2 separate regions of the Homo sapiens genome follow, and region 2 is linked to region 1. Evidence: promoter capture Hi-C in 16 types of primary human blood cells and fetal thymus (Javierre and others, 2016). All regions are on one chromosome and are shown on one strand. The core of a region is centred on a gene start or on the middle of the fragment in contact, and the rest is flanking DNA. Distances in the headings are between cores, read along the strand shown. Region 1 holds the start of CYB561D1 (cytochrome b561 family member D1). Region 2 overlaps AHCYL1 (adenosylhomocysteinase like 1).

What was found. Contacts are between HindIII fragments. The CHiCAGO score rates a contact against its expected background, and 5 or more counts as called.
Region 2: a fragment that was not itself captured here is called in contact with the fragment with the promoter of CYB561D1 in region 1 in 5 of 17 cell types (naive CD4 T cells, M1 macrophages, M0 macrophages and 2 more); the score reaches 7.7 in naive CD4 T cells.

The regions. Positions count from the first base shown.
Region 1 is chr1:109,488,679-109,495,475 of GRCh38, reverse strand. It overlaps CYB561D1 (cytochrome b561 family member D1), which reads right to left and starts at 1,382. Exons shown (of 3, transcript NM_182580.3): 1 at 1,189-1,382; 2 at 296-333. The coding sequence starts at 1,336. It overlaps ATXN7L2 (ataxin 7 like 2), which reads right to left. Exons shown (of 11, transcript NM_001350175.2): 7 at 6,376-6,629; 8 at 5,348-5,546; 9 at 5,084-5,205; 10 at 3,759-4,554; 11 at 2,742-2,890. The coding sequence ends at 2,876. RefSeq lists enhancers at 742-1,242, 1,232-1,311 and silencers at 1,382-1,611, 4,570-4,619. The HindIII fragment of the contact is 3,360 bases long and covers 1-1,793 here.
Region 2 is chr1:110,005,337-110,011,863 of GRCh38, reverse strand. It overlaps AHCYL1 (adenosylhomocysteinase like 1), which reads right to left. Exons shown (of 17, transcript NM_006621.7): 2 at 2,719-2,830; 3 at 507-650. Among named protein-coding and RNA genes, the nearest start is that of AHCYL1, 24 kb to the right of the region's middle. The HindIII fragment of the contact is 1,737 bases long and covers 2,548-4,284 here.

The DNA.
Region 1 (6,797 bases), core at 133-2,632:
TTGGGGACAAGTCGGGAGATGACCGGATAACACCTCTCCCCCCTTCTCCTTTCCGGCCCCAATGGAGAAAGAAATTATCTTCCATGCCCTCCCGCCCTTTTCAACCATCTGACAACTGCCTATGGCCCAGCCCTCCAGGTTTCCCAATCCCATAGGCTGCAGGGAAAGATGAGCCCTAGATGTTTCCTCCACCTGTCTTAGCCTTAGAAAGGCTGAGCTTTCTGAAAGCTGGGTGCTTCCCTGGGAGAATGAGGTGAGGAATACCCAAACAAATCAGATAGAAGCCTAAACTCACCGCCAAGGCCATGAATACAGGGTGCCAGGAGAAAAGACCTAAGAATCAAAGAGAACAGGCTGAGGGCTTGGTACCATTGTTCCTGCCCCTGTAGCTAGGTGGAACCCAAAGAATCTAGCCACAGGAGAAAAGTACCATCCCCAATCCTAATCGGGCACAGGAACTAAGGACAAAGTGGAGCAGCCAAGGAGCCCCAGGGTGAGCAACCAAGAGGGCCTCCTTATCCACACACATACAACAGTTTGGCCCGGGTTCCCCGTTCAGCACCTCTCAGCTGGCAGCCCAGTCCTCTGCCCCTTTTTTGTTTTTTGTTTTTTTTGGTTGTTGTTTTTTGTTTTTTTTTTGATACGGAGTCTCGCTCTGTCGCACAGGGTGGAGTGCAGTGGTGCAATCTCGGCTCACTGCAGCCTCCACCTCCCGGGTTCAAGCGATTCTCCTCCCTCAGCCTCCCAAGTAGCTGGAACTACAGGCGCGCGCCATCACGCCTGGCTAATTTTTGTATTCTTAGTAGAGACGGGGTTTCACCATGTTGGCCAGGCTGGTCTCGAACTCCTGACCTCAAGTGATCCACCCGCGTCGGCCTCCCAAAGTGCTGGGATTTCAGGCATGACCCACCGCGCCCGGCCTCCTTCACTTCTATCCTCCATCAGGGGACCTGTTTCTGAGGAAGTAGTTCGGTCTGTTCAATCGTCTGCCCTTCCCCCACAGCACCCAAAACCCCATTATTCCAGGATCCCTGGGGCCCCGCCCCACCAGGCCCTCAAAATCCCTCCACTGTTTCTGTCTCCCCTTTACTGCTGGGGTCCCTCCTCCAAGTCTCCCGGGGCTCCCAAGCGCTGCCCCTCCAGCATCTCCACTCCGCCCCCTTCCGCAACCCCGCCCCGCACACTCACTGGTTCCTGGCCGGGACAGCGCTGTCAGAAAGATGGTGAAGCCCAAAGCTACCAGGTGCGCCAAGATCCCACTGCCTCTCCGCAGCCAGCGGGTCAGTCTCGGCTCCCCAGCTGGAGCGGGAACCAGACCTACCTCCAGGGGCTGCATGGCCGTGGCCCGCGGGCCCGTACACTCCAGCTGCCCGAACACGTCTTCCGGGTTTGCGATCGCGGAGGCGGTGGCGGCTGCAGGAGAGGCTCCTCCCCGGGGACGCCGCCGGCAGTGCGGCGGAGTGGCCCACAGCGCCCTCTGGGGGCTGGGGGGGAAACGCGAGTGCCCCGGAGAGGCCCGCTCCCGCGAGAGCCCGGAGGCAGAAGGGGACCGAACAGTTCCCAGCCCACCTTCATTTGTATCTGTGTGTCTGTCTACAAGGGCCTAAATCCCAAGCAGCCTGTGGAAATTACTTTTGTGGCAAACGATTTCAGTGAAACCCCAAATCACACACTTGGTACGCTGAACCAAGACTGTGAAACAAGTGTTTGGAGCCGATTTCTAGTAGTACTGGATTTCCCTGGCTGTGCACTGTCTCCTGTCACCTCATTTTGTCTTGTTCAGGGAACAAGCTTCCTCCATGCCTAAGAGCAAGGAGAATAGGAAAGGACATCGCCAAAATATAGTGCCTTGAACCTGGTGGACCAAAGGAGGGAAATGCAAGTCTCCTCTCGCATCTGCACGGGAGTGGTCCCCAGCGAGATAAATGGAAAAACTAGGGCACTCCCAGCCCTGCCGCCTCCTCAGCAGCTGCTCAGCCCTGAGGAGCCAGGTGATCCTGAAGGACCAAGGCCTCCCACACTCCTGTGGCCTCCCACACCACCAGTTCTGCAAGTGATGATGCCTTTTCCCTTCCTGCCTCCAAAAAAGGGGTGGTTCAACCCAAGGAGGCCTCCCTGGGAAAGGTTCTACCCCTTCCTTAAAGGCAAACCCACAGGCAGGGAAGGAAGGCTGTCCAATAGAAAACAGGAATATCCCAACAGCAATGACCAACCCAGCTCAAGCTCCCTAAGTGGCTGAGAAAATGAGGCTGCAGGAACAGCTGAAGAAAAGCAGGCAATAATTCAGGGAGGGATGGATGCCTAGGGTTGCTGAAGGACCAGAAAAGGGTCACAAGCCAATTCCCAGACCCTCGGGGCAAGGATCCTAGAAAGAGCCAGAAGTGCAGCTCCCCCTCTCGAGTTTCTCTTCCCAATGGGACCATAGTCGTCTCTGGTGTCAAGACTCAGGAAGCCTTACTCATTCAGAGCCACACGCCTCATCATCCTGTCTGGAAAGACTACCCCAGTGACACAAACATTTTTCACACTATTGAAAATGACAAGATGACAATAATAATAATAATGAGCATAAGAGACTTTTGCAGGCAAGCTATGGGAGCTGGAGTCTGGCTGCCTATCATCTCAGCCTCCCAGGGTAGGGCTGGGGACAGTAAGGACACTCATTTTGTTATTTTTTTTCCTTCCTTTTCTATGTTTCTGTTTTTATATTTTCATAGCAGCAACAGAACAGGGAGACAGTCTTGAGGTATTTTAAAGAGCTTTTTTTCTTAAAAAAAAATAATATAAAGTTATAAAAAGCGGCAGCAGCCTGGGGCCCGGATCTGGAGGGGAGGAGGTGCTGGCGGCTCCGTTGCAGTGGGCAGGCACTTTCTCGTTAATGGGCTTTTGACTGCAGGAAGACAAGAGGCGAGAGAAAGGGTCAGGGTGGGGGCCTACCAGCTGTCCTACCCAGTGAACTGTGTGCACTACAGAGGCTAAAGCTTGATTTCCTTCTGCTGGCCTGGTGAGTAAAACTGAGCAAGGGGGAAGATGAATGCCAGCTCACCAGGGGCAGCCTGGGTAGTGAAGCTGGAGAACACACAGGGTTTATGATTAGGCCCACATCTAACCCAGGAGAGCACCCCCGTCCCACCTCCAGTAAGTCCCTCCTGGCAGAGATCATATGGAGAGCACATAGCACACTACACCAGGGCTCCCACCAGAAGAGGCAAATAAAACTGGCTGCAGGCTTTACTGGAAACCCTGGAGAACTTGCCTGTCACCTGCACACCTGGAGGTGGGCACATGTGCATAAGTGGACATGGGGTTGTGTGCCTGCCCTTCAAGGCCCTGATGCCCAGAGGAAAAACCAGTGAGACCAGCCCACCCACCTTGCTGCTCGGCATGTTAGGCTGTGACCCAGGGACTCAAACTCCCTTTCCTTCAGGGAACAGAGGTAGCTCCAGTACCTGGAATGAGGGTCACAGCCAATTCAGAAAGAAGTAGCCCTTTGATTATAGCAAAAGCAGGGGTGGAGGGGTGCCGCATCTCCTCAGCCCAAGGGAAAGGGTTAGGGATAGGGGAAGGTTCACCAGGCAAAAAGCTGGAGTCACTTTGCTAAGAACTGACCTACCTCTTCCTAAAGAAAACAGTCCAGGAACTCTCTCAACTTCCCCTTCCTCCCTTTCCCTGCACAAACACCAATGTAGCATCTTCTCTGTATCAGGTACCCCCTGTGTGCCCCACCCTCATCAATCTTCAGGGAGCCTGGCTGGTACCTTCAGTGTAGAGCACTTCTCCTCAAAGGCCAGGGCCGGGCCTGGCTTCTTGCGGCGCACAGAGCAGGCCACATCAGCAGGGGCACCAGCCTGACAGTGCTTGGCCTTCACTGGCCGGCAATAAGTGGCCAGGTTTTTCCGCTTCTTGGCCACCTCCTCCTCAGAGAGGCAGTTGGTTGGCAGGGCCTTGGCTGGGTGTCCAGCTGCTCCCCGGTTCTCCAGCTGAGAAGCCTTGACTGGTGTGGGGAGCTGATGAGGGGAGCCACGACAGTCCAGGGGCCCTGCCCGCTTCACTCTTGGCCCCATTGTCCCATTAAGCCCCATGCTCAGGGCTGTTTTAGTTTTGGCCGAGAGGCCCCTACAGCCAGAGGGTTTCCCTTTTCCAGTGGGCTCCAGGATGCAGGTCCGTTTAAGAGTGGTAGGGCCAGGGGATAACTTCCGCTTTCGAGAAGGGGCCTCCACCTCCACCCCGTCCTTGCCTTTGGATGACTTGCTGGCCTTGGAAGGCGGCAGCTTGCTGAAGGACGGGGATGGCGTGTTGGCAGGCAGTGGTGAGGTGATAGCCTGGCTCCCGCCCATGCACTCTGCCTGGCTACAGGCAGCCGCCACGCTGGGGGAGCCTGCAGGGTAGCTGGGGACAAGGTTGTCCTTGGTGGGGGGCATGGAGGCTGGGCAGGCAGGTCTCAGGGTTGGACCTGGAAGGCGGGGGCAGGTGCCTGTAGAGGATGGGCTCAGGGGAGCAGATAACGGGGAGTTGACAAGGTGAGCTGGAGGTTCAGCTGCCGGTGGGATCTTCCTGCAGCAAAAAGAAAGCCCCACTGTGACTGCCAAGAAACAAGACAGCTTCCCCCAACACAAGACACACTCCAGTCTCTCTGCCCCACCTAGAAATGGTCAGCAGAGCCCCAGAGTTGCTGCCATCTGCTGGGAGATGCTGGAACTGAGGGTTAGGAAGAAGACACAGGGGTGCCTGTGGAGAGGAATTAGCTAGTACCTACTAACTAGGAGGCAGCCCACTAGGAACTTCATTTTAAATCTTGGTTTGGGCATCCCCTATCCCTAGTTACCCAAAAGGTACTGGAAGTGATGGATGAAAGTCTAGATTCACCCCCAGACCACCCTTCCATGCCCTGCCTTAGCCAAACTCTAGGCTGCCAAGTTTTCCCACCTCCTTTTCATGCTACTCCCTATCTGGGGTCCTGCTGGCAAATAGCCAAGGCACACCTATGGGTATACAGGAAAGATCAGGGCTTCTGAAGCCCAAGTATGTCTGGAACCTAGGAATTTCCATTCTAGAACTTCCATTCTGGGTCCGAGAGACTTACTTCCACATGTGTGTGCTGAGGTGCCGTTCCAGCATGGAGCTGAGTGCTGAGCAGAACCGGTCCAGCCGGCGGCTAAACACATAGCATCCTGGGCTCACCAGCCGGCTCCCAAAGGTGCAGAACTAAAGGCAGAAGGAAGGTGCATGGTTGGCAGGGTCTGGGGTGCACAGACAGCATCTGCACACAGGATCTGGCCTCCTCCCCATGTTGTTGGCCAGGAGTGCTGGGCCACCCCCTCCATAGGCCCCTATTCCAGGTCCTTACCGCCTGTGGCCGTGGGGGCCGGGTTGCATAATGGCAGTCAGGGGGTGGGTGGAGGTCGTCAGATGTCCCCTCCTCCTCACTCTCTTCGCTGGAGGCCTGGGTCCCACCCCGGGGCATGGGGAAGGGGAACAGGCCTGGGTCCCCATCACCACCACAGGGGCCTTCATCATCCAATTCACTCTCGGAGGAGGCCCGGGACCTGGAAGGGCCAAAAGGGATGCCAGGGGAATGTGACTGTTGTGGGGTCAGAGTAGGGGCATCCTTGAACCTGCCGAGCTCAAAGAGCAGGGCACCAGGGCAGACACCCTGCAGGGCAATCAGAAGAGGACAGAGGGAAGGGAAGGACAGGAGGGAACGACACAGCTCACAGAGTAAGAGACAGAGAGACTGCTCCCAAGGGATTCTCTCCCCAGCCCCTTCACCTCCCAGCCCCTTCCTCCTCAGGGGATAATCTGCTGCAGATCCGCCTCCTCCAGAAAATCTTCACAGTTAAAACTGTACCCAGCTCTGGTCAGCCCAGTCAACTCGCTCAACCCCCTTCTTGCATCACATATTCCTGTGAGCCTGTCTGTGAGCTGAGCCTGTGTTTCGTGTCTGCCCCTTGTGTGACAGGCAGAGATGCATGTGTGTCTCCTTCAGCAAGTCAGGCTCTCCCTGGGGTCCGGCATAGCCTCTGCACGCGAAGGGGCCAGTGAGTGAATACACATAGGGCTGCCTTGCCCAGGAGTGTGACCCTTTCAGCTCCCCAGTGACAAGTTTCGGTCTGTTGGAGGCAGCTGGGAAAATGTTCATATCCTGAGTGTTGGATCTGGCACACTGCCGAGAGGCTGGGGTGCTGTGGTATGCCTGGTTGGAAACAGGGGAGTCTCCTGCTTCCACACCACTGTCAGGAGCCCCAGGAATACCCCCACACTCAGGGCTGAGGGAGTGCCTCTTCCAGGACACTCCCTGAGCCTGTTTCCAGGGGCCCCTGATGGCTTAGGGGCCAAGTACCCCCAGGTGAGGTAGGGGTTGGATTCTAGACGTACCTGGGCAGTGCACAGTATGGGTAGGTCTGCTTGGCACGAACAGAGAAGGTGCTGCTGGGAGCAGCCACCGCTGCTACAACCTGGACTGAGGAGGGGAGCTCCTGGGAGGGGCGCTCGAGAACTTGCTCCTTGCGCCCTGGGCTCTTCTCCTTGGGAGACTCCCCTTTGCGGGAGTTGGCCTTCAGCTCTGCCACCAGCACGTCAAAGTCCTTGGCCCGGCCCTGGACTTCCCGGCGCTGGTGTACTGAGTGGATCTAGAATACAGCAGAGTGGAGAGCTGGGGAGTAGGTATGAACTGAGAAGGGGTGAGGGACGGCAGGGTGCTTTGGCCCGGGCAAGTTGGGGGGCAGGGAGAGAGGTGGGCATATTTGCAGCTGTGTTCATGTGTCTTTGTTTCATTCCCCCATGGGGCCAAAACCCTC
Region 2 (6,527 bases), core at 2,167-4,666, 510 kb before region 1:
CCTTACTGGGAGTGGCTGGGGTAGAGAAACCAAGATTTAACTGTCAGTCACTTTTACTCTGCTCCAGCAGAGGGTGCTCAGGACCAAACAAGACTCTAGGTCACCACATCCTTACCTTAAAACCCTTCCTCATCAGCTGCTTCTGGGCAATCTGGGTCTCTGCCATTGGCAGCTATAGTAAGATCCCATATAACCAACTACCACGTAGTGATCTAGGACTTGTCAATTCTGCCATGTAGATCTTTGAATACAGTGGTGGGGTGGGGCAAGGAGGAAAACAGAAACTACTCTGTGTGTAATCACCACATGCTGAGAACAGAAGGAAGAGAGAACAAAATCCCAAGACTTAAGTTCCATAGAGAGAGAAGTGTTTATCCGAAAGTCCATAATACTGTCTTTCTTCCCAGTACACTTTCAAGTCAGCTTTCAAGTCTTAAGTTGTTTGTGGATTCTGATGGCCAACAAGAGGGTTGTTTCTGGTCCCCTAACCCACTCCCTTTCTTTACCTTGCTCTGCAATCTCAATCTCCCGGCGTCCAAATTCTGCCTGCTTGATGTTCTTCACACAGAAATTGCTGCTGCCCTTGGAGTTGGTTTGCTGCTTCTCTCGGGGAGAAACCTCATCATCAGAGCTATCTGTGTAGGATGCAGCTAGAGCCAGGAAAGAAAAAAACAAGGATAGAAAAACCTCAGTGGTCCCCAACTCTACAGAGTGCAGTCCCCAAGGGACTTTCATTTAAGTTAAGGGAACACCCTTAATTGGAGCTACCTTTTACAACGCTCTCAGTTCTGCTCCTCTAGGTTCTAATAGGTGGTATGAATGAAACTGTTGTGGGTACTTCCATGTTGCAGCTCTTTCACCCACCCTAACAATACTGTGCTATTAGTGCCTATGACAAGGGACCACTGATTATAAACCTGCAGCTATAGTAATCCCAGATAATAGAGGTACTTGGTCCCATCTGGATTGGAACCAGACCTGGCAAAAACAGAAGAATAATTTAGGGCAGATAAGGAATGCTATTTCTATAGATCACTGGTTCTCAAATTCAAGCATCTATCAGGATCACATGGAAGGTTTGTTAAAACATATATTGCTAGACCCTGTGGCCAGTTTCCCATCTGGCAGGTATGGAGTGGCACCTAAGCATTAGTAGTTCCAACAAGTTACCAGGTGTTGCTGATGCTGCTAGTCAGAGGATCACACTTTGAGAACCATGGATATAGACAAAAGTGATAAGATAGTCTTACAAGGGATTTTACACTAAGTTGTGCTCAAGGAATAGAGAAAGAAAGAAATGGCACAAAAGGCAAACAGCTCTGGTTCTACTGATAGCCCTGGGAAAGTCTGTCAAAATGATCAACTTTAAAAAGTGGTTTCACATAAAAGCTAAAAATACCACTTATCTGACAGATATGCAAGAGGATATACAACAATCATTCCTTACCTCTCAAATCACTTCTTTCCTCTCTGAATTGAGTACTTTCCTCATCACGGTTTCTGCTAGTATACCTGGACTCTCTCACTGACTGACTTCTATGTACAGGTCCTCCTCCTGTCCAGCTAACACAAATACTACTAAAGATTATCTTCCCCACTATGACATTTTAACCATATCACTAAGCTTTTTAAAAGGCTCTAATACATTTCTGTAACATGGCCGTCAAGATCTTTGAAGACTTTTTAAAAGCCTTCTTCAGTCGTTTTATCGTTCTTCCTCTCATAACTCAATTTTTCACAATTAATTTTTCTTCTTTCTTGGCTACAGTTAGCCTGCTTGTCACACACCACTTTTTATCTGTCACTCCAGGATCATATATAACAGCTTTTCATTTATGTTAATCCTTAATGTTGATAATACAATGCAAAAGGTATTCTGGCAAAGGACAATGAATGGCTTTTGGTACAAATATCTCTGCTGACATTAATAGCAATCTGTAACCTCTTAATCTTTTAACAATGAGTCTTCAGTTAAACAATGACAAGGTTGTATTGGATGCCCCATTAGATGTCCCTAATGTTTTCTCCTGTATTCATCTGCCAAGATTCTATATTCTTTTCCATGCTAATTTTCTAATACATGCTCTATAGTTGGGAAAGACACAATACAAAACAGAAAAAGACTTTATTTACAGAGAGTTAAGACAGGAGGAGAGAACTAAAAAGAAACAGAGCTGGAGTTACATTACAGTAGTCTGAATCTTTCCTGCTCCAGAGTCTAACAGGGGAGGATATTCCAACAGAAAGAATAACCTAATAAATAAGAGAAGCCAAAATACTAATTTTATTGTTACAATCTAAGCAGTCTTGGAGACAAGAAAGAAAGAGATAGGTGACAGGGTATATTTTACACAAAGAAATCGTGCTTCAAAATGCACTTCTTTTTTAAGTCCAATTCTGTCAGCCAAAATAGCATTGATTTCTTCCTTTTGAAATGGGCGGATCAATGTGGGAATGGGAACTAGCCCAGTCCTACCAACTGGGCACTGGCCACAGACCACACACACAGACAGCCAGGGGGAAGAAAGTCTCGAGTCGACAAAAGCTTCCCCAGCTACTAGCTTGGCTGCAGAACATTCCCACTGCCCAGCCACTAACAGTTTTCAGCACAAAGGTGGGCAGTCATAACATGAGGTATTTTCAGATTGCTAAGTGAAGAGCACTGGTAGCAAACAGGGAAGAGAGATTAGAGAGGACATGGAGTTCATTCACACCTACCTGAACTGTAGCTGTCAGTGGAGGACTGTGAGATCGAGCGAGACAAAGATCTTCGGCCAGTTTTGGTGGGGAATTTGGTGAACTCCTGCATGTCATCAGCAAACTGGATTTGCTATACAAAAGGAAGACAAAAAGTTGAAAACTTATAAGGAAAATCCATGAAATGTTTTTTTTTTTAAGGATACATTGTCTTTCCCTAAAAGCCATGTAATCACATGGTTCCTACTAAGCCAGCAACTTTCCCACCAGAAATGGGGGAAGGCCGAGGCTACTCTCTGACTTCTCCCAACACGTCAATCACTGTCTCTTCCCAATTGTTTCTGCAGGATTTGGGAGGAGGGGCTAAGGTTAAGAACCAATTTCGTTTAGTATATGTTCAATTTTATAAATCTTTCTCACATTCCATCAAGTTTTTTTCCCCTCTTATAACCCTGACAGATTAAACTCTTTACCCTTCTTCCCAAATCTTTCAGAAAACAGAATCTCATAGTGCTACTGGGGTTTTTTGGTTTTTGTTTCAGAATATTCCCTTGTAGCACATTCCTAAAGTTGGCAAATGGTCTTGCTTTCTGAAAGAATTATGAAGAGATGCCTAGAAATGGTGATGGGCATTAGGGTGCCAATACTCAGAGCCCAACCATATGTCTATACTTCACAAAGCCAATGTAATATCTCTAGAACCTCCTATCCTATTAAAAATTTAAAATACCAGAATATAATGATAAAAAGAAAATTAAAAACCCACATACACTATAGTAAATTCTAACTCATTAGGACTAATCTGAAGGAAGGAGAAAATAATGACTTGGTAAACTTTGTATTAAAAACTTCCTTAAATGGGCCAGGTACAGTGGCTCACGCCTGTAATCCCAACACTTTGGGTAGATCACGAGGTCAGGAGATGGAGACCAGCCTGGCCAAGACGGTGAAGCCCCGTCTCTACTAAAAATACAAAAATTAGCTGGGCTTGGTGGCGGGTGCCTGTAGTCCCAGCTACTTGGGAGCCTGAGGCAGGGAATTGCTTGAACCCGGGAGGTGGTGGTTGCAGTGAGCCGAGATCGTGCCACTGCACTCCAGCCTGGGTGACAGAGTGAGACTCTGTCTCAAAAAAAAAAAAAAAAAACCCAAAAAAAAAACTTCCTTAAATGAAATAAGCCAGAACTAGATAATTCTTTGAAGAATAAAACTGGCTCTAATCAATAGCAAATAGCTTGCAATTGATATTATTTATAGATTTATAAAGTGTGTAACACTTTTATTACATGGTTTAAACCTTCCTCCCGAACTCCTGTTTAAACTCTGATAAACCCTTTCTTCAAAATAAAATAAACTTCACCCCTGAAATAAGCAGGATGGTTTGAGTATGTGAACTGAGATTCTGTTCACGATCTGACTAAATCTGAAAAGGTTCCCTTGGAGAATCCATTAAGCTAAGTCTTTAGCAAATACTCTGGAAATGTAAATGACTACAGATTAAAATCTTCTCTGTATAATACTGGCAACATGGTTACAGCCACTTTAAAGCCAGGAACAGTAAACTACCCATTAGTTACAGCTGCAAAAGCTTCTCCTCCTCTTTCACATGTACCCTTCAGCTAGGGGAGCACCAGATTGCAGTGCAGCAATCAGGTTTAAGCGGGCAGCCTAGGCACAAGCAGCTAATATAAACAAATTGGAAACTGATTTCTACAGTCAGTAAAGCTAGTTTTGCTGAAGAAATTAATCCAGGACCAAGGTAATGACTTCCAACTCAATATGCTGTTATTTTGATGATGGAAAAAAATACACAGTCAAGAGACCATCAACCCCTCTTAACACTCTCCAGAGGCAGCCCTTCCTCCACCAGCCTCCCTGCTGCTGGCATATGCAGCCTATTCTATTTGGAAGCTACTCTCCCCTCTGCTATGATTCCTTCCCCTGTTCGCCTTTTTTCAAAGGGTTCTGGGCATGTTCCCAGATACCAGGTACATGGAGGGTGAGGGTGGGGGAGGGAACTGCAATAACACTTGCAGTTTTTCATATAGAAAGGTGGCTGTGGCAAGAGAGAAATGTGTTTCTTCAGCAACTTAAAAACCGAATAGTCATAATTTCCCCTTATATTAATAAAGCTCATCAGTAGCCTAAACCTAAGCAAAATCTTTCCCATCTAAAAATACTGGACTGTGTTGCAAGCAGCTTAGCAGCTTACTAACCAGTGCAGTGCCCCTACCTCCCCATCTCTCAAATAATGAATATGGTCCATATTTGAAGTGGGTAGAATGTAGTTAACCCAAGCCATGGCAAGGATGAATGGACTGTGTATTCTTGCAGCTGTTTGACATTCTCACCACTTATAAGGTGTCCCAGCAATACAAAGATGCATGAAAACCTGGTCTTTTCTTCCACCCCAAATTACAGCCTGAAGAGAATGTGTGTTACAACTGATGCTGTGGAATACATCTGCTCTGCCAGTTTCCTCCAGACCTGCTAGCTCCACTGATTATCTTCACAGCTAGTAGCTCTGTTTTCTCTTGGTGAAGTATCTCCTGGAGCATTGTTCACCCTCACGTTGAAAATATAAACACTGCTGCCAAAAGCAACTTTTGGATATCACAAGTTTTCTCTCCAGATCTCAACAACAGCCTTCTGATTGGGTTGGACTCACTCATTTAAGGCAAATATGATAATCTGGGTAAGACGAAAAGGAAGACTACAAAGTTGTTCTGTTTCTATTAATTCCTATCATCATAATTTCTTCCAAACATTAAGTCTTAATTACTGTGCTTTCACCTTTCTTCAAATCTACATCTACAAGGAATACTACACCTAAGTAAAAAGTAGGATTGGGAAGAGAAGGAATGGAAAGGAAATAAAGTGGCTGAAATGCAGAAAGTATCTTTAAGTAAAAAGTCTTATGTTAAAGAATGATGTTATGCTTGAGTAACTCACCACCCCATAAACAGCCTTACCCACAACTGAACAAGCATACCAGTGTTCCATTCTTACACTAAGAGCATATTTATGAAAGGCTAGAAGGTCAGATTGACCCATTCTTCAAATAGCACACCCAAATACAGAAGTCTACTTGCTGTGTCTTAAAAACCCAATTAAATATCAGGCCAGTTTAACATGCTATTTAAAGCACCTCTTCAAATAGCTTAGCAGGTACAATGGTTGACTTTCTTCCATGTGATACTGAGAATGGTAAAGAAAAGCTCTACCAAACGAATAATTTGGGGTATATGCACTACCTAGTGGGAAGTCTGCTGACAAAGTGAGCTGAAAGAATTGTGCAGACCTTACCAAGAGAAGGGGATCAGAGACAATCCAAAAAAGTTACATACCTCAAGAGAAGAAAAATTGTATGCTATTCCTTTAGTTGATCCTAATTGATTTTTTTTTTTTTTACCATTAGAAGCTGAGTTTACTTTCATAAACACACATCCTATATTCTCAGATGTTAAATAGCCCAGCTACACTCCTTCCCAGGGCCCACCCAATTTTGCCTGCTATCTCCTGAATGAGAAAGAATTAACAGCCACCAGAATTCCACTACAACATTTTAGCCAAGAAATGGTGATCAGGATAATATCTGTGATGCATTATATTCTTTAGTCATCACATTTGCTAGGCACCAACTAAGTATCCAGTGCTACTCCAGGAAAGTTCTATGCAAGGAAACACGGTCCCTTAAAATCTGTAGACATGTTTTGACCCACAGTATAGTAATGTAAGTGGCTTTGGCATGGAATTTCACTGCTCCATGAGGAACATGCCAGATATTATAGTCTTCACAGCCTTATCTGGATATTGTTTAACTTAGGTTTAAC